Linked DNA regions of Homo sapiens: regions 1, 2, 3, 4, 6 and 7 are each linked to region 5. Evidence: promoter capture Hi-C in 16 types of primary human blood cells and fetal thymus (Javierre and others, 2016). All regions are on one chromosome and are shown on one strand. The core of a region is centred on a gene start or on the middle of the fragment in contact, and the rest is flanking DNA. Distances in the headings are between cores, read along the strand shown.

Region 1 (3,286 bases), core at 168-2,667, 4.8 Mb after region 5:
AATTGGAGAATGGAAGTATATTCCAGTATGTGGTTGAACTTCTTGTGTGTAGCCCAACCCAGGAGGCTTCTGACCAAAATACTATAAAAACGTTGAATTTCCTGGCTGACAGAGGATGTGAAGTGTCCAAAAAGAAGGCTCAGATTACCCTCCAATGGATCCAATATTTAGGGTATGTCTTAACACCGGGAACCCGACAAATATCCCCAGAATGAGTGCAAGCCATATGTGGTTGCCCCACAGCCACCAAGCGCAGCTTTGTTCTTTCTGGGGAATGGCTGGGTTTTGCAGAATATTGGTACCAAATTTGGGGCTTGTAGCAAAGCTCGTATATGAAGCAACAAGGAGGCCTGAAAATGAGCTAACGGAATTGACCCCAGAAATGAGAAGCCTTCACCAAGCTAAAATAGGCCCTTACCAGGCTCCTGCTCTTGGCATCCCAGACATAACTAAGCCCTTCTTGTATGTAGCTGAGAAGGGCGTAGCTGTGGGAGTGCTAGCCTAGAAATTAGGATCAGAACCCAGACCAACTGCCTGCTTTTCAAGGAAGTTGGATGGAGCAGCCTCGAGATGACCAAGTTTCCTGCAGGCAATAGCCACTGCTATGTTTGTGGAGGAAGCCACTAAAATCACCCTGGGCCAACCACTGGAAGTTCTAACCCCCCATCAGGTAAAGCCAGTCTTAGAGATAAAAGGACACATGTGGATGATGGAGGAAAGGTTAAACATATGCCAGGCCATGCTGCTAGACAATCCAGATGTAACCCTTAAAACTTGTAACACCTTGAATCCAGCTTCATTGCTACCCACAGGCCCAATAACTGATGATTCCTGTGAGCAGGTCATTGTACACACATATATTAGCTGGCCTAATTTAAAAGATTAGCCTCTCCCAGATTCTGAAGATAACTGGTTCACAGATGGCAGTAGTTTTGTGTCAAATGGGGAGTGCTGAGTTGGATATGCAATGGTAAATCACAACACCATTATTGAAGCCCAGCCACTGCCCCCTGGCACATCAGCACAAAATACTGAAATCATTGTTCTTACCTGAGCACTAATGTTGAGACAAAGGAAAAAGCTTAACATCTATCCAGATTCTAAATATGCGTTCCTTATGTTTCATGCTCATGCTACAATCTGGAAAGAAAAGGGACTACTAAATAGCAAATACTCCCCAATAAAGCACGGGCCTGAAATTCTTCAGCTGTTGGAAGCAATACACCTGCCAAAGGCTGTAGCTATAATCCATTGTAGGGGGCATCAAAGGGACTTACTTCCTATAGCACAAGGGAACAGAAGGGCTGATAGAGAAGCTAAAGCCGTATCCCTCAGGGTGCAATCCCAACAGATCCTAGCACTGCTTCCTTTCTATGATTCCTGAATGGATCCTGAATACACGCTATAGGAAGAACAGTTAATAAAGGAACAAGGGGGACAAAAATAAGTATCCGGGTGGTATATGGAATCAAACTAAATCTCCCTCAAACAGCCCAGTGGAGATGCCACCCTGGCCATGGTTAACAGGCTCTTCATTGGGCCTAACTTAGATTCAGTGGTTAAGCAGGTCTGTCAATCCTGCTCACTGTGTGCACTTAACAGTCCAGGAAACAAAATGCTTCCTCTAATAGAATCAGTCCAGAGGAGAGGAACTTACCCAGGGGAACACTGTCAATTAGACTTCACCCAAATGCCCGCTTGTAGAGGATACAAGTTTTTGTTAGTCCTGATAGATACCTTTACTGGTTGGGTCGAAGCTTATCCTACCAGAACAGAGAAGGCTATTGAGGTTATAAAGTTTCTCTTACAAATAAATAGTCCCTTAGTTTGGGTAACCTCAGAGTCTCCAAAGAGATAATGGCCCATCCTTTATCTCCCAAATAACTAAAGGGGTCGCTAAGACCTTCAGAATCAAATACTATTTACATTCAGCATGGAGGACTCAATTCTTCGGGAAAGTAGAAAGGGTTAACCAAACTCTAGAACAAGCATTAGGTAAGCTATGTTAGGAAACATCAGAAATTTGGGTCAGCTTACTGACTATAGCCCTCTTAAGGATCTGCAATACCTCTAGAGCAAAAATTAACATAAACCCATATGAAATGTTATACGGAAGGCCATTCTTAACTAATGATCTAATTACTGATCCAGAAACAGCTGGTTTAGTGAAATACCTAGTTAATGGACAATTTCAGCAGGCTTTCACAAAAGTTTGGAACTCAAAGGTTCCCCATACCAGGAGCTAACCAGCATCCCAAAATCAGGCCAAGAGATAAGATACTTGTTAAAACTTGGAAGGAGGGATCGCCTGCTCAACAACTACAGCCCAAATGGAAGGGAACATTTTCAGTGGTGCTGGCCATGCTTTCCATGGTCAAAGTATTAGGATTTAAATAATTGGATACATCTTTCAAGGATCAAGTCTGTGATACCTGAAGCCTCAGACCTGGAACCTGAAGTTTCCTTCAGCCACTACACCTGTGAACCTGTGGAAGACCTGAAGTGCCTGTTTAGAAGACAGCCAAAAGATAAGTAAATGCCTACCAACTTTCCTTGGTGTTTTTGTTGCATAGTTATTGTAGGTTGGATAATAATAGCCATATTTTTATATATTTGGCTGGATAATAATAGCCATATTTTTATATATTTTTGCAGTTTTTCTTTTTTCAAATGTTTGGAATCACTCCCTTTGTAGCAATTAAGCAGAATGTTTTAATTTCTCCCTATAACAAACATTCCTGATAGCATAGGTATCCACCCCCTGAAGTTCCCATTAGATCTTTTAACCAAATTCATTTCCTCTCACCTAGAGACCATTGAGCTTCATATGATCATGCAACAACATTGCCAGCCAGTTCCAAATGAAGATAGCACCCCCAGCGATCAATAAACTACCCTGCCTCCACTGGATAGAGCAGGGAAAAATTTCCATGATCAGCAATAGGTAGGGATTGCACCCCAAGTTAGCATGAAGCAGCTACAGAAGAAAGACCATCAATCCCTCTGCTTCCCATAAAGATTTATGGGAATCACATCTCTCAGGGGGAATATGAGGCAGGAAAATAGGGTCTGGAAGCAGGGAACCTAAGGTTTATTCATGCTGACTGGATATCAGAGGCTACTCTCTTTACGACCTCTCCTTCTCTGTGGCAGTTGAAAAATGAGACCAATATCCCTGATGAACATCAATGCAAAAATCCTCAATAAAATATTGGCAAACAGAATCCAGCAGCACATCAAAAAGCTTATCTACCACAATCAAGTCAGCTTCATCCCTGGGATGCAA
Region 2 (3,044 bases), core at 376-2,875, 3.3 Mb before region 5:
CAGCAATCTACAATTAAAGTGTTATGTGATATCTCTTGTTTGCAGTAAGATACAAACTGAACAATGAAAATCTGGCCATACTACAAAACAGAGATGGAGAGTAAGTCTTGGTTTTGGTAGTTTTATTAAATAAGATTTTTCCACCGCAGCTGAGTTCACAACAGTGTACTTGAATCATCTAAAGAAAGCAAGGACGGGGAAGAAATATCCTGGAGAAATGTTGAAATCTTTTCTCCTCCAAGGTTACTATCACCCTGCCTGTCCATCACAATTTTGATTTCAAGTATTCACGATGCTGGTCTGAAACACAGGATGCATCAGAAGCCAAGTAATGCTCAGCAAAAGTTCACCAAAATTGTGAAAGCAAACATTAAATAAAAAACGTTTTCAATTAACAGTAAAATATCTTTAAAGGATCATCTCTAGCCTTTCTTTCTGCAGGATCCACCCACTTTAAAATCCTTTGGTAAATTCCCAGGTCTACCCTAATTGAATGGTCCCTCTCTATCTGCTCAAGCAGTTCTTAACCCTTTGGAGTGGGGATGGGGGTAAGGGGACATCACAGCAAATATGGACCCTTACCAAAGAAAATTATTCACAAATGCAAAATTCTACACACATTTCCAAAGACTTCCAGAATCCCACGGCCATTACCCCCACCGCCTCCCTAAGAATCCCAGAGTGGCGTGCTTCTCAATGGCCTCTGCGGAGCACCCCCAGCCCCCAAGCCACAGCCCCCGGCTCGACCCCGAAGAGACTAGAGTTCCTGCTCTCACACAGCGGATTCCGTAACTGAGCTTTGTCTCCTCGCCCAACTCCCTTCACCCCGGCAAGGTCACTACCGCCAACTACCCCTTTAAGCCGAGCCATCACGGTAGGAGTTCGTAACAGCCACAGCAGAACTTGCCTGTCATAGGATATATTTTGTCCCCTCGGCCCCACCTACCCTCCCCATTTCGGCAAGTTACGTCTTTACCACTAGCCCATTCTACAGAAATAGCTGCCGCCGCCACCCTCCGGCGCGCCCCGGCCCCGCCGCTCCGCCTCCAGCGCCCCCAGGCCCATTTCCCGCAGACCCTCCCCGGGCCGCCCTCCCCTGCCCTACTCTAGGCGCTCCCTCTCCCTCGCAGCCACACCGTGGCTGCACTCGCCGTCCTCTCTTCCGGCCGCTACCACCCCGGCCCCCTAGAACCCCAGCCTCCCGCGCCCGCAGCCGCGTTCCTGTCTCCCCGACCTCCGCACCCCCACTTGGCCCGGCCTCCTCGCCTTCCTCCCGGCTCCTCCCCTCAGGACACCTGTGTCGTCCCACCCCCTCCACCACACACGCACCCCCCACCCCAATTCCTTCGCCTCCCTGTCCTCCCTCCCCCGCCGGTCTCCCCTCCCCGCTGCTGCCCCGAGAGCCCGATGTGGGAGGGAAGGCGCGGGGGAGGGGAGGCCGCGAAGGGGGCTGCTTTTCTCCGGGTTCCCCGTGCTGCGGAACTGCAGGGCTCCCCAGCGCCCTCTGCCTTCTTCGCCGGCGGCGCGGAAGTCGGGGTCTCCCGGACGCCCCCGATGAGGGTATTTACCTTCTTGCCGGGGACACTTTGCAGACGGCTCCAACATTGGCAAACACTACAGAGAACTGACCCCGCTCGGCCGCCGCCGGCTTCCACCCCTCGGGCTCCCCGCCCCCCGCCTCCGCCCGCCTCCGCCCGCCTCCCCGGCGCTCCCGCCGCGCCCTCCCGCGCTCGCGCCGCGCGCCCCCGCCTGCGCAGCCGCTCCCGCGCCCCAGCACGCCCGGCCGGCGCGCGCGCCCGGCACCGGCTCTACCTCCACTCCGCCTCCCGCCGGCCCGCGACCAAGCGCGGCCATTGTTCGCGACGCAGCTCCCGCCCCCTGGCGGCTGCCGGGCCCCAGCAGCTGCAGGCTCTGCGGGGCTAGCGGCGGCGAGCTGGGCCCCTGGGCGAGGGCCATTCCCGGGGGGCTTGGGCACGCGGGCGAGCGACTGCGCAAGGAGCGCGCCCGGTCCGCAGTCTCCTCGTCCCCGGCGCGACTCCCCGCCCCCTCGTCTGCCAAGGGTGGGCCTGGGGCAGCCCCTTCCACACCTGCAACTCGGCAACTTCCTTCCCCGCCCGACTGACCGTCTGCTCTTTCTGGTCCGCACCCTGTGCTCTGATTCCCCGCTCGTACCTTTCCCAGGCTCTCCGGCTGCCCCTCTGTGCTGTGCAGGGGACGCGCGACCATCCCGCGTCTGCTCCGGCCGCCGCTGTGCAACGCACGGTTTAGCGGATCTTGCACCTTTCTAGACGGGGGAGGGGGCGGGGAGGAGGTTGCTTCACCGTCTCGCCCAGCAAACACCAGGGATCCGTGATCACCTGCTCGCCAAGACCCGCGGCGTGGCCAGACCTCCTCTTCTACCGAAAATATTAGTCACATGAAAAAGAATCCTTGGAGCCAAAAATGAGAACCATTGAAAACAATGCCCTGAATCCTAGATTTATGAGGCAAGAGTGCCAGAAAACAGAAATTACGTCTTAATTCGTCCTGGTTTTGATGTGGATTACTTTTGTCTAGATAACTTCAACCCAGTTAAGCTCAATGAAACTGAACACTTCGTTTAGTAACCGGCACCAAAAATAATCTGACAAAGAAATTTCGAAATAGAACTATTAGTGTGTTTTCACAAACTTACTCGTTTGCAACGTTATTTCTAGGGTTTCTTCCCAGTGTCACTTCTCTGACTGAGAAATGTCTCCCAGGCCGGTGATTTCAGTCATCATCTAAAACCAATCTCATGTCTGCACCTGGGAAGGTAGTGTGTGTCCTGGTTAACCGCAAGGGCGCCAGAGTCAGATAACCAAGGCTGGATATCCGCTTGCTAACTGGTGAGGAGACCACGGGCATGTTACTTATCCTGTGCATCAAGAGGAGACTACATGTGATAGATAGTTCGTATTTAAATGTGACAATACATATGAAGCCCTTTAAATAGGACCGGGTATGTAGTACCTCTCCTGGTACAATGTTAGCTACAGCTATATTTTTCCTCCCAGAACTCTTTC
Region 3 (3,155 bases), core at 293-2,792, 4.7 Mb after region 5:
TACACATAAGTATATTTAGATACTATGTGGAGTATATATACTATACATAGTATCTATGTGTAGTATATATACTATACATAAGTATATTTAGATACTATGTATAGTATATATACTATACATAAGTATATTTAGATACTATGTATAGTATATATACTATACATAAGTATATTTAGATACTATGTATAGTATATATACTATACATAAGTATATTTAGATACTATATATACTATACGTAAGTATATTTAGATACTATATATAGTATATATACTATACATAAGTATATTTAGATATATATACTATAAATAAGTATATTTAGATACTATATATAGTATACATTAAGTATATTTAGATACTATATATAGTATATATACTATACATAAGTATATTTAGATACTATATATACTATACATAAGTATATTTAGATACTATATATACTATACATAAGTATATTTAGATACTATATATACTATACATAAGTATAGATACTATATATAGTATATATAGTATATATACTATACATAGTATATTTATGTACTATACATATAGTATATTTATATACTATATGTAAGTATATATGTAAGTATATTTATGTACTATATATAAGTATATATACCTAAGTATATTTAGGTACTATATATAAGTATGTATACCTAAGTATATTTCTGTACTATATATAAGTATATATACCTAAGTATATTTCTGTACTATATATAAGTATATATACGTAAGTATATTTCTGTACTATATATAAGTATATATACGTAAGTATATTTATGTACTATATATAAGTATACAGAAGTATATTTATGTACTATATATAAGTATATATACTATACATAAGTATATTTATGTACTATATATAAAGTATATAAGTACATTTTATATATATTTTTATATATAGTTATATATAATATATGAATAGTTATATATATATAAATCACAGTACATTTATTGATGGGCAGGGTCCGTAGTTTACTCACTTTCATTTTCCCAAAGCCATAAACACCTGAACTGTTTCCTGCTGTTTCTGTCCTGGTCACAGCCTTCCAGCGTAGGAGCCAGGCCACCTTCCTTTTTGCCACCTGTCCCAGCACCGCGACTGCGGGCAGCACAGGACCTGGGCGCTGCCCCATCACTTAGAGTGACTACCTGGGCCTGGGGATGCACCAAGTTTCTAGGAGCTTTTCGGAGTTGGGGACATAAAAAGGGGCAATTATTCCACAGAAGCCGCCACAGAGGTTAAGTGAGGTCGCGTGAGCGAACCGCTACTCCAATGCCGGAACTGTTCCCGGTCGCCCAGGGCAGCTCCGGATAACGCAGCAGGCAGGGGTCACCCAGAGGCTGCCTCCACCCTAGGCGCCGACCGCGCACGGCGCTCGCGCCCGCTCCTGAGGAGGGAAGGGGCCTCCCTGGAAACCCACAGCGCCCGCTGAACCCGGAGGGTGCGGTGAGGAAAATAACGGTCTCACCTTGAGTCGGAGGACGTCCGGCTAGCTCTGTGAACGGTGTTACCGCACTCGTCTCTTCCGGAGGTAGAGGGGCTACTCGCAACAGGAAGTTCCGCCCTTAAAAACTCCATTCCTGAGGGGGCGTGGTTGCTTTGCTGGGCCCCGCCCCGAGCTGCGCCCTGCGAGCCTCTGCCAGGCCGGGCCGGGTCCTGACCCGCGCTGGAGCATGGGATACTGCCTCTTCATTCTAGCTTCTGGTTCTTTTCTCCTGCTTGTCTTTTCATCTCTCAGTTTTTAAACATTACTTCTCTCTTTACTTTGCCTTTTTCTTCTTTCGTCCTCCATTCATTCACGGTTTCCCATTTAGCTTGCTTTCTTCTTTCTCCCATTTATTCTATAGTACTATTTTGACAAAACCCAGATTGCAGATATGATTCCGATTATGCAGCTTTTAGGTGCTAACCTAAAGCTGGTAAACCTATACTAGATTAAAAAAAAATAAACTGATAACCAGAACCAACTGCCCAATTCTTGATAATTTACTTACATACTATTTATTGAGGACTTACTATGCTTCAAGCAATTGTGTGGGGTTTTATTGTTTTGTTTTTTTGAGACGGAATTTCACTTTTGTCGCCCGGGCTGAAGTGCAATGGCGCGATCTCGGCTCACTGCAACGTCCGCCTCTTGGATTCAAGCGATTCTCATGCCTCAGCCTCCTGAGTAGCTGGGATTACAGACGCCTGCCACAACGCCCGGCTAATTTTTGTATCTTGTAGAGACGGGGTTTCACCATGTTGCTCAGGCTGGTCTCAAACTCCTGGACTCAAGTGATCCGCCTACCTCGGCCTCCCAAAGATTACAGGCATGAGCCACCACGCCTGGCCGAAATGTGTTTTTATATGCATTATTTTCCTTAAAGTTTTAACAGTTTCTTGAAAAAGGTATGATTAGCTTTGTCAGACAGATGAGGAAACTGAGGCTCAGAGTAGTTAAGTGATTTGTCCTCAGGTCACACAGCAAGAGCAGAGAGTGAAACACACTGAGTTCAAAGTTTTGGGGTTCAGAAAATGATACCCCACAATGAAGGCCTCAGAAGCAGCCTTAGAAGGAAAAATTTTCCTCTGACTCCTTTTGGTCTCCTGTCTCTGGTCCCACATTCTTCCCCAGACTAGTCATAGAAGCTAGAATTCCTCTTTCCCAAATCAGGTCCCAGAAATCAGGACCCCTTTTTTATAAAGCCAGCCATAAAACATAAAAATACTACTCTAGGCCAGGCAAGGTGGCTCACGCCTGTAATCCCACCACTTTGGGAGGCCAAGGCAGGCGGATCACGAGGTCAGGAGATCGAGACCGTCCTGGCTAACACGGTGAAGCCCCGTTTCTATTAAAAACACAAAAAAATTAGCCGGGTGTGGTGGCTGGCACCTGCAGTCCCAGCTACTCGGGAGGCTGAGGCAGGAGAATGGCATGAACCTGGGAGGTGGAGCTTCCAGTGAGTGGAGATCGCGCCACTGCACTCCAGCCTGGGCGACAGAGGGAGCCTCCGTCTCAAAAAAAAAATATATATATATAGAGAGAGAGATATAGATAGATAGATAGATAGATAGATAGATAGATAGATAGATAGATAGATAGATATTACTCTAGCATTCTCCCTGTGTTTCTATGTAAAATCTGACCACGAAGAAATTATATGACTCACCC
Region 4 (3,181 bases), core at 18-2,517, 4.7 Mb after region 5:
TAGAAGATGCTTACTGTAAGCCTCCTATGGAAGTGTTCAATTTCTTTGGCAAAATTTTATGCTATCTATGCCAATGTTGGATAAATAGATTAACTTGCTGCTTTGTGTTTGTATGCTTGCAGACAAAATTGTGTTATTGATCTTGGGTATCAAGGTGAATTTGTCAGAGTAATGGGTGTTTTTTTTTTTTTTTTTTCTCTTAAACAGTGGCTGGCTAACAATCAAAAATAGGTTTTGGTAATGTTGGGTAACGTTGCTCAAATACGGCTATATTATGCAGAGCACATGGCAATCGTTGAAGAGTAAAACACAGATAATTCCACTTCTTTGTAGTGTGCTTGACACAGGTTTGCAGCAGTATTGCATCATCTATAAGCATTACATATGGCTGTCCTTTCATCTTACTAAATTATTTGCCAGCAGATCTAATAGATGGGCTGAGATAGTGAGCATGAACAAAAGAATGTTTCTCTTCTCCAGGATATTCTCTACTTTTTGTTACTTAAGTATCTATGTAATAGCATTTGACATACAGCCAAACACCAGGGCAGCCCCATTTAAGGTTTTTGATACACTGAGGATCATTCAGAAAACTTCGGATTCCTAGTTATAGAGTTGAATCCAACCACCAACACACTCCAGAAGTCCTGACATTAGGAAAAGAGATGGCCACCATCTTTCACCCACTTCAAGTCCTGTAAGGATGATCTAGAATCTACACTGTGCCAACTAGCATCCAGGCACACATCAACCTGCCCGGACTACCAAATGCAGAAACAAGCCCAGTAGCAGCAGCTGCTCCGAGCTTGCCCACACACCTGCATCCTAGTGGCAGACAAATATCCTGGAAGCCTTTGTGTCCACACACTCATACCTACATGACATACACTTAGAGGAAAAGATCTGAATATTCTTATTCACAAGAACAGAGGCCTGAATACAGGAACACTATGCTCACGTACACACAAAAGACACGCATGGAATAAAGCATTTTGCATATCCAGTCTTGCGCACTTACACTTTCAGGTCCTGCACAAGACCCCTGGACATCGGTTTGCTTTTCTTTGAGCCATTCACAAACTAGTTCCTCGTTCCTGGGACCGTCCCTAGTGTGGATAAAAGCCAACTTCCCACAGTCTTTGTCGGTCTTTTCAACTTTTCTCTGCTCTCGCTCAACTCCCAGAGGGCCGGGTGGCGCCGGCCAGCCGACGTCCCAGCGGTGGCCTCCCCGCCCAGCCGCTGTGCAGCGGGGCGGGGCCGAACTGGCAGCCAGGAAATGCCCTGGAGTGTGTGTCACCTGTCCAGGACGACTTGTTGATTCCCAGGAGGGCCGCCTTTCCGGTCTGGGTCCCCGAGAGGACTGCCTTGCTCACCTGTCCCCTCGGCGCGGCCCCGGGGAGCTCCCGAGAGGCCCCCGGGATCGCTGGCCCTCCGAACTCCACAGCAATGAGCAAGTTGGGCAAGTTCTTTAAAGGGGGCGGCTCTTCTAAGAGCCGAGCCGCTCCCAGTCCCCAGGAGGCCCTGGTCCGACTTCGGGAGACTGAGGAGATGCTGGGCAAGAAACAAGAGTACCTGGAAAATCGAATCCAGAGAGAAATCGCCCTGGCCAAGAAGCACGGCACGCAGAATAAGCGAGGTAGGCTGGGGTCTGGCCCACAGGCGGGAGCCCATCTGCCTCTAGCCTTTCCCTTGGGGACAATCGGCCCACACCACTGAGGTCCCCAGGTGGCCAGGTTTGCTCCTGCAGTCTTTTCTAGGAACTGGTACTGACTCTTAGGGCACTGACTAGGGTGAGTTGAGCTAGACACTGGCACTGATGGCAAAATGTAAGGGGCCGCCAAAAATCTCAGTAATCAAGATGAACAATACTTTAATGCAATACCTAAAGGACTCAGAACCAATGCCAAAAAAGAAATGATGAAGAAAATATCAAAATTTTAAATAAAGACAAGATTGGTATTGATTTTTTTCATTTGCCTCTAGCTCTTATGTTGTTATGTGCAGCACATCTTTATTTAAAATTATTTTTTATAATGTGATGATTTGTTCATCGTGGATTTTTTAATATTAATTTTGAATTTTAAAAATATTGCATTAAAATATTATTTGTCTTGATTACTGAGTGTTTTCGCACCCCTGTAAATTTTGCTCCTGGTCCAGCTTTTTCTAGGCCAGCCTTGCTGACTCCAACACTAACCATGAAGTTTTCTGCTGTATGTTTGTATATTAAATTACACATTTTAACTTGCACGTAAATCTTCAGAAAAGGATATTCTAGTACGTTGTGGTCTACCTTGCTCCTCAGCTGTGGAAAGCTTTAGCTGGATGTTCGGCAGTTGAAGTCTTAAAAAAAAAAAAGGTAGAGGAATTAATTATTAAATTTCCTATCACTGACTTTTGGCACACACAAGAGACTTTGAGTCAGTAATGATTCTTGGTGTTCCTGTTGCACCTTGAACACCTGTTCTTTGCCAGAGTTAACTGATTTCTTCAGTATACTGCTCCTTCTATTGGAATACCTCTAAACAGCACCTGTGGCACAGATAAAAACTCAGTGAGAAGTTGAAGTGATTTGCTCTTGTAACACCGGGTTCATGGCAGACCCAGAAAAGGAAGTGGCAATATCGGACTCTGCTTACCACCAAACCCAAACATTTGCACCCTCAAGTTGGGCTTCTTTAGTCATAATGAAGCCTTGGGAAGATTTGGCTCACTCTACAGGATGCTGCCATTGTTTAATGCAGGAAAGGAATGAAGTCTCAAGGAGATGAACTTGAGAACTCTGCCTCTTTCTGTAAAAGTGTGCCAGCTACATTTATGCCCACTTACCACCAACAATAAGAAGGCTGTTTTATTGCATATAACTTTTGTGCATATTATAGCCTGTTTTAGAGGTAAGTACTGATTTCTACTTTTACTTTGTGTCTGAAAATATTCTGGGAAGTTATGCAATGGCAATTTCTAAAGAAAGACCATGTCATTATGGCTTGCTAAAAATGTTGTTGGTCATTTTGCTCCTTGGCCCTTCCTCTTCAGTTTGATACACACTCTGACGTTTGCTTAGTGTCTGTCAAGGGTTTTCTTCCCTTTGCCATCTATTTGGATCTGTGTACAGCTTTGTCTACCATGGTTGCTCAGCAAATATTGGTGGTGGTTGTTGTTGTTTTGAGACAGAGTTTCA
Region 5 (3,014 bases), core at 251-2,750:
ATCCCAAAAACCAGAATTTTAATGCTAGAAGAAAAGGCAGATCATCTCGTTTAAGACATAAATTTAATCTTCTTAACAAGAACCTTGTTATTCAAGCGGAACACCTAAATGGCTGCTCTTGTTAAAATAAACCTGAGGGTGGGCTTGCTTTGTCTCTCCCTGCACGGCTCCAGAAAATTTCTACACAAGTTCTCCTATGGAACAGTTTTAAAACCCCAGCTTGAGTACTAACACTAGTTTCTAAAAATAAGGAGAATACGGCCAAGAGGTAAAATTGTACAAAGGCAACTAGAGTCAGGACTAGAATCCAACTGTCTTGATTTAGTCTAATACTCTTCAGTCTACTAGTCTAGTATTCGCTCTATGTCCTGTTACTTCTATTTTTTTTTTTAAGAAAAAAATATGAAGGGTTTTTTTTTTTGACTCTGTAAATAATTCTTTCAAATCTCTTTCTGGCTCAAGATCACTCAACTGTAATCTTTCTGGAAACAAGTAATTGATAATATAGGTGAGATCAGATAAGTTAAAAGAGCCACCCCAAGTTCATTCTGTTCAGGATTAAGTAAAGGTAACACTTTAGGGGAAGGTGTTTAGACTACAAGCTGCGGTGTTGTGAGCGCCCAAGTATCATTTAATTGTCCGAAACGTCAAGATAAAATATTTCCGAGGGGCATCACGGAAGTTTAACAGAATGTGTTAGACTTGAACGTTCAACAGCTTGCTCATTTTGCCAAAAGCCCTTTCACTAAATGTGGGAAATTTGGAAAATGGTACCTCAATAAATAAACAAACAACGATTTTTAATTTAAGAACCCAGGAAAAAATGTTAACAATTCTCACATTCAGATTTCTTATCAAAAGTCAACGTGAAATATAACTAATTTATCGCAAGCAATTTTATCAGAAACTTTTCATTATCTCTTCCTCCATAAGAAAACCAAACTGCATTTACGTGCGCTTTCAACAGTGTTAGAAAACTAAGCACTCAAATTTTTTGTACTACATATAACACTTTACATGAACTTTCAGATATTAAGTAAAGTTTGGATCCTCAATTCTTTATAAAGCCGTTTATAAGAGGTAAATATCTTCACGACCGCCAAATGAGAGAAAAAGATTTCGAAGTTCGTCTCTTAAGTTACTACGTGGAATGCAGAGGGGCTCAACTGCAGCTGTGTGTGTGTTTATTTTTAATGCCGCGATCCTAAAAACATCTTTAGGAGTTTAGGTTTGCTTCACTGCCTTTCCCAAAATTCAGCAGCTTTGATTTGCCTTTTCCAGGGAGACAGGAAGCCAATAAACAGGGAAAAAAAAGCAAACGGCGACAATTACAAGGTCGTGAAACTCCACGACCTCCCAGCTGAAAACAAGACCTCGGGTTTGCACTCCGGCTCTCTAGGGCAGACACTGACCTTAGGAGTCTGCGAAACGCCCACGCTCCACGTAACTTTCTCTGAAACATTCTCTGGAAAGCTTGTCTTTTCCTAGCCGAATCTGGATTACCAAGGCTTCCGGAACTCGCAGGCTTCCGGAGCGACGCAGGAGCCGGAAGTGGCTGAAAAAAAAAAGAAAAAGTTACACCAACGAGAACTGCGCTTTAGCGGCGCTGCTGAAGGCACTGGATGGCCAAACAACCGCGAACGCCGACAAGCCGAAGAGCCGAAGGGCCGAAAAGCCGAAGCGGACACCCGCGCGCGGTGATTGGCCGGTTGGCCGGAAGAACTCTGTCTCTGATTGGCAGGAGAGTCACGAACCGGTCAGCCCCGGGTCAGGGGCCGCAAGTGAGGACACTACAAGTGTCGAGGGGCCTAGGGGAAGCCGGGGCTTGGGAGGGCAGGGCTTTCTCTGCTTGCGGACATCGCGAAGGGCCTCTGGCAGGCGCCGCCGGGTGGCGGCGAGACGCCTCCGCGCCTCCGGGGTTCCTTGTTCGCTGTCGGAGGAGGACCGGCTGAGGGATGGCCTGGTGGGGAGGGAGCCCTCGGGCAGGTGGCTGCGTCGGGCCTGGGGCAGTTGTGCTGCGCTTGGAGACCTGCCCGCCCTCGGGGCCTGTGTGCACAGGGAGGATAGGCTGTTTATCTCTGCAGGCTCAGGAAGGCAGGTAGCTGGCCCGTCAGTCATCCGCCCTGCAAAGCGCTCCCGAGAGACCCCGTAGAGCGGGCCAGCGCGCGCCTGGCCTGAGGTTTCCCGCCCCCGGAGGCCCTCACATCTCCCCGGTAACGCTTAGGAATTCGGGCAGCCAGCTCGCCTACCCCTGGGGAATCGAGGCAGAGCTTCTGGGAATGGGGTCTGAGGGAAGAGTGCTCACCAGGCAGTGACATGTAGCCGTTGAGGATCGCCACTGCCTTCTCGTTCTGTGGTATGAATGGCAGTGTCTCTCTAGAGAGTTAGTGCTTAAGTTTGAATGATGGCAGGCACTTCAGGATTCCAGCACGTAGTAGGGTTTAAGAACGTCTTAGTTCTTACCTCCAGTCTCGACTCACCGTTCCTACAAGGAACACTCACTTCTACGAAAGCTCTATTAGACATTCGAGGGAGAGCTTATACTGTAGAACCAGTGTTATTAGGAAAGTTTTTTTTTTTTTGCTTGTATTTTTATTTCAGAAACTACCCATGGAGCAGAGTTGCTAAAATAAAATTTATTAACTCTAATGCTATCCAAATTGTGAAACAATGGTACAAATGAGATAGAGTAGAAGCTACAAATTGATAGAGTATGTAGTTCACTTAGGGGTTTGGGAGTGGATTTTCTAGAGCTGCAACTGTCCAGTGTAGTAGTCACTGGCCACCTGAAAAGTGGCTAGTCTGAACTGAGGTCTGCTCTAAGTGTAGAACATGCACCAGATTTCTAAAGCGTGGTCTGAAAAGAAAAAGAATGTAAAGTATTTCATTAATTTTATATTGCTTACATGTCAAAATGAGAATGTTTTGGAAAATTTTAAATTACGTGGCTTCCATTATATTTCTATGGATACTGCTGTTCTAGAGAGTAAAAAAATCTCACTGAAGAAGAGTAG
Region 6 (3,103 bases), core at 476-2,975, 3.7 Mb before region 5:
TGGGAATCCTGGTTCTCTGCAACCCCTCCCACATTTCCCCATCCTCCCTGGCCCCAGGCCACACTTACAATATGTGTCTGCATGGGCTATATATTTATATATTTTTTTTTAAAAAAAGCTTTGCTAAGTATCTCTCTGTATATAAAGTGCTTATTCCTATCCCAATGAAGACTTCCCACATTTCATGCACCCACCCACCTGCACCTAGATTAAGCAAGCAATACACCATCTGTACAACTTCATTCCATAATTAGTCTTAATTCTGACCCTGCAGAGGCCACTGATGGCCCTCACTATTCCTCTAAAACCTGGAAGCCAAACAGGCTCTGACATCTTCTGAGGCACAACTACCCTTCATGACACTGGATGTGCTAACACTGGGAACTGTACTCTCTATCTACCAAAGCAGTAAGACAAAACTGAATTTATAACTTAAAAACCCTCTGGAGGCAGTGGGTCATGCCTGTAATCCCAACTATTCAGGGGACTGAGGCAGTAGGATTGCTTGAGGCCAGGAGTTCAGTAACATGCTGGGGAATACAGGCTGGTGTGGATCTCATCTCTACAAAGGAAAATTAAAAAATAAACTCTTTGGCTCTACCTAGATATCCATGTACTATTTCAAAATATTGACCCAACTGCTAAGACAAAAAACATCTAGCAAAACACTGATACAATCATAAATATGTAAAATGATTTTTATAAACGATCATCTTGATTTCTCTCCAAAATTCACTGACCCTAAACAAACTTACTAAGCCAGAGAAATAGGTCCCAAAACCAGGAACAAAGAACTCAAAGAAATTCTATTTGTCTAGCAACTTTCGAATATTAAAAAGCAATAAATGACTGTGGAGCAGTAGTACCAAAATAATTACTAAGGGAGCTGTTTCAGTGTGTCAGAACTTTGACAACTAAATGAGGACCACAAACATTTTTACTCTCATTCTATGTACTTCATGTTACACTCTACATTGTTCACTAGTCTAGGTGAAACAATACATGAAGTATAAAGGAATGTTATTTACAAAAAAACCTTTGAAGTTTTTGCCCATTAATTTCATCAGATGCTCTGAAATAATTTGCATCCCTGGGCACAAATTTCATGCCTTCCTTCATAATACCCACAGTATGTAACAATTATTAGTAACTCACGTAAGTATGGCAAAAGATGCAAAACAAGAACACAAAAATGGAATGCAAAAGGAAAACAACACATTTACATGGCAGTTTATAAACAAGCGAAGGCCCGAGAAATAAATTTTAGCAACTAAATTCAATTTTTTCCATAAACCAAAGTTGGATTACCTTACCGACAAATCATGTACAAATGCTTGTGAAACAGGCTTTCTTAGAATAAACCCATTTCGAATCACTCAGCACAGTTAAAAAACAAAAAATTAAAATCTTTTGTATAGAAAAGCCTTTTAAAAACCCAAGAGATGTCTTTCACACAGACTCGACCCTGATTTTGCACGAAATGGGCTGTTGATTTGGCTTAATTTTATCACACACCACACTTGCCACAGTAGTTAAGGGAAGACAGAGGCAGGCTAACAACAACAACAACAAATCACAAATACAACAATATATTTCAATTTGAGAGCAGGTACTGTTTATTAACCAACCAGCTTAGAAAAATAATCATGGTAGACACCTGAAAGGAAAAAAGAAAACCATTAGAAAACACTTTAGGCAGCTAACAATTAACATAAACTAGGCAGTTATAAAGTAATGATTGAGTTTACATTTTTAAGACCACCCAATTTCCATCTTTAAAGACTCCCCAAAACAGGCTTTTCCTTTCCTCCAGAAAGGTCCTCAAAAGCAGTAAACAAACCAACTGTAATCATTAAGATAGTTGACCCCCACTCCCCACAAAAGCACTGATTAAAATTCAAACCCCCATCAATATTTAATGGGAAAAGTATTCAAGATTACCACCACTTATACTCTAACATTAACTCAACCTTTCTCAGGATGAGGTCTCTCACCTTAGTTCATTCTTCTAATAAGCCTGTTGATCTGGTCCTCCCTGTTGCCAGCATCTCCACCTTCTACAAAATGGGTGGTCTTTTTCTTCATTCCACCTCGTGGAGAAGACAATTTGAAGGGCCACAGGAAGTTATTTGCCTCTTTGAAGCGTTTTCCAACAGTATAGATCTCATGAATCAAATCCTCCATGCAGATGATGCCGTATTTACCTAAATATTTTAAGGTTATTTAAGATTATTAAAGTTGCAAAAAGTTTTGAAATAATTATTCAAAATCTTTTTGAATAGGCTGTGAGATGAAAACATAACCAGGAATAAACAAGGTAAATGCATGGCTTTACAAAGATAAGGTTCAAGCTAATGAAACCATGTCTTACGTTTTCTTTTAAGCTAAATCAAGAATCATAGGGAACACATGAAGATTCACAATAGTGAGAAATGTACGGCCACAAGAGGGTAAGAAATTATCGCATGGTCTAATACCAAATTTTCCCCCAAATAGAACCTACCAAGAGATCGAGCAATCAAAGCGTTATCTGTCAAAGCAATTCGCTTCTTATTGATTTTGCCATAACCACGCTTGTAGATTAGTTCATTTACTGACTTCAGATTGGGGTACCTGAAGTGAAAAAGCAAACATAAATAAGGTGACCACTGTTAAAACATCTAAAATTCATGTTGCTACATAACCAATTTATCAAATAGAAATCAAAGGAGAAAAGAGACTTACCCCCATGCAATATATGGCTCTACAATCCTCAGCATGTTAATCGAAGCCTTGTTGAGCTTCACAAAGGTTCCATTGAAGATTTGACGAAGGCGAAGAAGCTGCAACACCTTTCGAACCTTTGGGCTCACTCCATTGATACTGTGGTGAAAACGGACCAGAAATGCATTTGCCTTTCATCGAAATTTTTATTAATACTAACCATTATAGTTTTGAATATCGAATCCTACCTAAACAGATAGGAATCCTCTCATGTTACACACTGAATTTCTGTATTCTATTAAGAGAAGGGATAGGAGCTTGGGGAACATGGCTTGCAACTAAACCATTAGTGATCAGCACCCTCCTTGTTCTAGCTTCCCCTAAAATATTGTTACTCCGG
Region 7 (3,163 bases), core at 185-2,684, 3.0 Mb before region 5:
ACATTAACAGAGATCTGAAGAAAGCAAGGGAATGAGTCACAGATATTTGAAGGAACAGCTTTTTATGGAGGGAGAATGGCAAGGAGAACAGTCTGGCCAGATGAGTGAGTCAAGAAGAGAGTGTAGGAAGATAGGAAAAGAGGTGAGAGTTTGGGAAGTTGGACTTTATCAAAGAGGGGAACAGTGACACATAAGGAACACATACTGAGATACTGACCAAGCCATGGGTCTTTTTTTTTTTTTTTGAGACAAGTTCTTGCTCTGTCACCCAAGTTGAAGTACAGTTGTGCAATCCTGGCTCAGTGCAGCCTCAACCTTCAGAGCTCAAAGGATTCTCCCACCTTCTTCCTGAGTAGCCTGCTACCAAGCCCGGCTAAAATTTCTTTTTTTTTTTTTTTTAAGTGGAGGTCTCCCTGTGTTGCCCAAGCTGGTCTCCAACTTCTGAGCTCAAGTAAACCTCCTGCCTTGACCTCCCAAAGTGCTGCGATTATAGGTGTGAGCCACCACACATAGCCCAAGACATGGGTCTTGAATGCCTAATATAATAGTAAACAACACTACATAAGAATGTATTCCTCCTTTGCTACATTATCCTGTTTCATCACTCCTATCTATCCTTTTGCTGCTATCATTTCTGAAGACTTGATTTCAGCCCTCCATATAATGTAGTGCTTAAAATCAGTCAACTCCTAGCTATGTCACTGCGGGAGAACTAACCTAATCTTTCCTTGCCTGGTTTCTTCAACGGTAAAATGAGGATAATACAGCATCTACCTCACAGAGCTGTTCTGAAGAATAAATGGCTTTACATATAAAAGCACTCAGAATACTGCCTAGCACACATTAAAACACTGGCCATTATTCTATTTTTGAACCAGAGGTTCATTTCTATATGTATCAAGGGCCTACCATGTGCCAGGCACTGCTCTACATGCTTGGGAGGAATCTGTGGACAAAATAAATCCAACAACCTCTCCTCCACCCGTATCCTGGAATTTACATTTTTAGTGTGGGGGTTGACACACTAAAGGGCCAAAAAATAAGTATTTTTTGCTTAGCAGGCTGTAAGGTCTCTGTTACAACTACTCCAACTCTGCCACTGGAGTGCAAAAGCAGCCACAGACAAGATGTAAACGATTGAGTGTGGCTATGATCCAACAAAACTTTATTTATGGGCAAAAAAGGGTACATTTTATATAATTTTCTTTTCTTTTTTTTTTTTTTTTGAGACAGAGTTTCGCTCTTGTTACCCAGGCTGGAGTGCAGTGGTGCAACCTTGGCTCACTGCAACCTCCACCTCCCAGGTTCAAGTGATTCTCCTGCCTCAGCCTCCCGAGTAGCTGGGATTACAGGCATGCATCACCACGCCTAGCTAATTATTTGTATTTTTAGTGGAGACAGGGTTTCACCATTTGGTCAGGCTGGTCTCAAACTCCTGACCTCTGGTAATCCGCTCACCTTGGCCTCCCAAAGTGCTGGGATTACAGGCGTGAGCCACTGCATCCGGCCTATAATTTTCATGTTATAAAATACACATTTACTTTGAATTTCTGTCCAACTATTAAAACATTTAAAAACCATTCTTAGCTTGCGGGTAGTATAAAAGCAGGTAGTGGGCCAGATGTGGCCTGTGGTTCTAACTTGTTGACTCTGTTCTAGCAGGTTCTTAATCTGCAGTCCCCCATTCCTCGAGGTTCACAGATAAGCAGTAGAATCCCAAACCCTTCAATCTGTAAGCACAATTTTGTGCCTATGTGCAGTTCACAGTAAGAGGCATGAGAAGGTCCACAGCTTTCATCTCTTATCATAAATTAAGAACTAGCCCAGTTGAATGAAAATCAATGGCTACCTTATATAGACCCGAATCCATCTCCACATCTGAATTTCTACTCTGTTTGACATTTCTATCTTGAGACTCGGATAAATTAAGTGATAGGACTTCTGTTTCTTCATCTTCCAAATGAGACAATTGGACTCAATTATGTCCAAAAGTCCATTCTGGCTCTATTTCATGACTAAATCCATCTGAAATTCATCCTTCCCAGACAACCACCTATAACTCAGCTTCCCATGTTTATTACCCAGAGTCGCCCTCCCACAACACAGAACTTAAGGGCTGCAGAGCGCTGCATGTTCTGAGTCTGTCTGCCTCACCCCTGCAAACGACCTAATTATTCTCTCAAATAATATCTCCAAACTCCCTTGTTTCAGTTTTAAAATTATAAGCAGATATTCCCAACATATAATGTGTATTAATCATAGATTCTACATATTAACAGAACCTTTCGAAAGATAGGCTAAAAATAAACTGAAACCAATCACTTCAGTTGCCTTGTCTCTCCATCTTCAGCATTCCTGTGTTTATATATTTTGTCCACCCTGCTATTTCAAATATTGAATAAAAACTGTCCTTCCTACTAAAGGTCAACCTTTCCACTTAAGCAATGATTGATATTCCGTCACCTAACTAAAGACTCTGCTATGGCCATTATTCCCATCCACTTCTTAACCTATTCTGATCAGCCTTTGGCCCACCAGTCCATTTTAGGGGTTCTTATCAAATTTCAACTACTTCACTTGGTCACATGGTCAATTTTTAATCCTCATTTAGCAGTGTTTTATACAATTGCCTACTCCCTCCATCTTGAAACATTTCTTCCTTAGTACTCCAGATGTCACACACTCCTGGCTTTTCTGCTTCCATTACTGTATGCTCCTCTTCTAACTGGAGTGCTCCCAGTCATCTGCCTTCTTCTCCATTTAACATTCCCTATTTGATGTCCTCCAGACCAGAGGTTATCATCTATAAAATATGACTCCCAGATCATCTCCCTAGTTTTTCTCCCGAGTGCCAGTCGTGAATATCCAACTTTTCTACTGCACATATTCTCAGGTGTCTACTAGTTATCGAACTCAGTAAGTCCCATATAGAACTTCTGATTTATCAATCTCAGAAACTGATACTCCCTTCCTTTGTCTTCCCCATTTCAGTACATGCACTGCTGTTTACCCAGATTCTTGGAAAAGTGATTCGTTATTCAAAAAACATTTTTTTTTGTTCGTTTTGTTCCTGGGAAGAAAGCAAAACCCATTTGGCTCCAGCTTCAAATTACATTCCAAATCAGACTACTACTCACTTTCAACTCCACACTTCTAGTTCAAG

Evidence for each region. The method cuts DNA at HindIII sites, captures the fragments that hold promoters and counts their contacts. A CHiCAGO score of 5 or more calls a contact.
Region 1: a contact is called between a fragment that was not itself captured here and the fragment with the promoter of PEX2 in region 5, in 1 of 17 cell types (non-activated CD4 T cells). The highest score is 7.8, in non-activated CD4 T cells.
Region 2: a contact is called between the fragment with the promoter of STAU2 here and the fragment with the promoter of PEX2 in region 5, in 1 of 17 cell types (total B cells). The highest score is 6.5, in total B cells.
Region 3: a contact is called between the fragment with the promoter of IMPA1 here and the fragment with the promoter of PEX2 in region 5, in 4 of 17 cell types (total CD8 T cells, total B cells, non-activated CD4 T cells and 1 more). The highest score is 7.8, in total CD8 T cells.
Region 4: the fragment with the promoter of CHMP4C here is called in contact with the fragment with the promoter of PEX2 in region 5 in 1 of 17 cell types (non-activated CD4 T cells); the score reaches 8.8 in non-activated CD4 T cells.
Region 6: a contact is called between a fragment that was not itself captured here and the fragment with the promoter of PEX2 in region 5, in 1 of 17 cell types (total B cells). The highest score is 5.3, in total B cells.
Region 7: a contact is called between a fragment that was not itself captured here and the fragment with the promoter of PEX2 in region 5, in 1 of 17 cell types (naive CD8 T cells). The highest score is 5.1, in naive CD8 T cells.

Annotation. Positions count from the first base shown.
Region 1 is chr8:81,846,576-81,849,861 of GRCh38, forward strand. It overlaps LINC02235 (long intergenic non-protein coding RNA 2235), which reads left to right. Exons shown (of 8, transcript NR_170320.1): 3 at 2,416-2,532; 4 at 2,811-2,944. Among named protein-coding and RNA genes, the nearest start is that of LINC02235, 5.6 kb to the left of the region's middle. The HindIII fragment of the contact is 676 bases long and covers 1,080-1,755 here.
Region 2 is chr8:73,745,215-73,748,258 of GRCh38, forward strand. It overlaps STAU2 (staufen double-stranded RNA binding protein 2), which reads right to left and starts at 1,626. Exons shown (of 15, transcript NM_001164380.2): 1 at 1,569-1,626. RefSeq lists silencers at 1,029-1,088, 1,199-1,378, 1,669-1,758, 1,839-2,128. The HindIII fragment of the contact is 14,890 bases long and covers 1-3,044 here.
Region 3 is chr8:81,684,783-81,687,937 of GRCh38, forward strand. IMPA1 (inositol monophosphatase 1) reads right to left here and starts at 1,543. Exons shown (of 9, transcript NM_005536.4): 1 at 1,470-1,543. RefSeq lists an enhancer at 1,289-1,789. The HindIII fragment of the contact is 6,947 bases long and covers 1-3,155 here.
Region 4 is chr8:81,731,181-81,734,361 of GRCh38, forward strand. It overlaps CHMP4C (charged multivesicular body protein 4C), which reads left to right and starts at 1,268. Exons shown (of 5, transcript NM_152284.4): 1 at 1,268-1,636. The coding sequence starts at 1,447. The HindIII fragment of the contact is 11,241 bases long and covers 1-2,313 here.
Region 5 is chr8:76,998,578-77,001,591 of GRCh38, forward strand. It overlaps PEX2 (peroxisomal biogenesis factor 2), which reads right to left and starts at 1,501. Exons shown (of 4, transcript NM_000318.3): 1 at 1,413-1,501. RefSeq lists an enhancer at 1,496-1,790. The HindIII fragment of the contact is 1,935 bases long and covers 1,472-3,014 here.
Region 6 is chr8:73,289,049-73,292,151 of GRCh38, forward strand. It overlaps RPL7 (ribosomal protein L7), which reads right to left. Exons shown (of 7, transcript NM_000971.4): 4 at 2,725-2,862; 5 at 2,504-2,613; 6 at 1,995-2,204; 7 at 1,194-1,657. The coding sequence ends at 1,996. Among named protein-coding and RNA genes, the nearest start is that of RPL7, 3.0 kb to the right of the region's middle. The HindIII fragment of the contact is 3,218 bases long and covers 117-3,103 here.
Region 7 is chr8:73,966,259-73,969,421 of GRCh38, forward strand. The region is part of intron 1 of ELOC (elongin C); the gene reads right to left. Among named protein-coding and RNA genes, the nearest start is that of ELOC, 4.4 kb to the right of the region's middle. The HindIII fragment of the contact is 3,809 bases long and covers 1-3,163 here.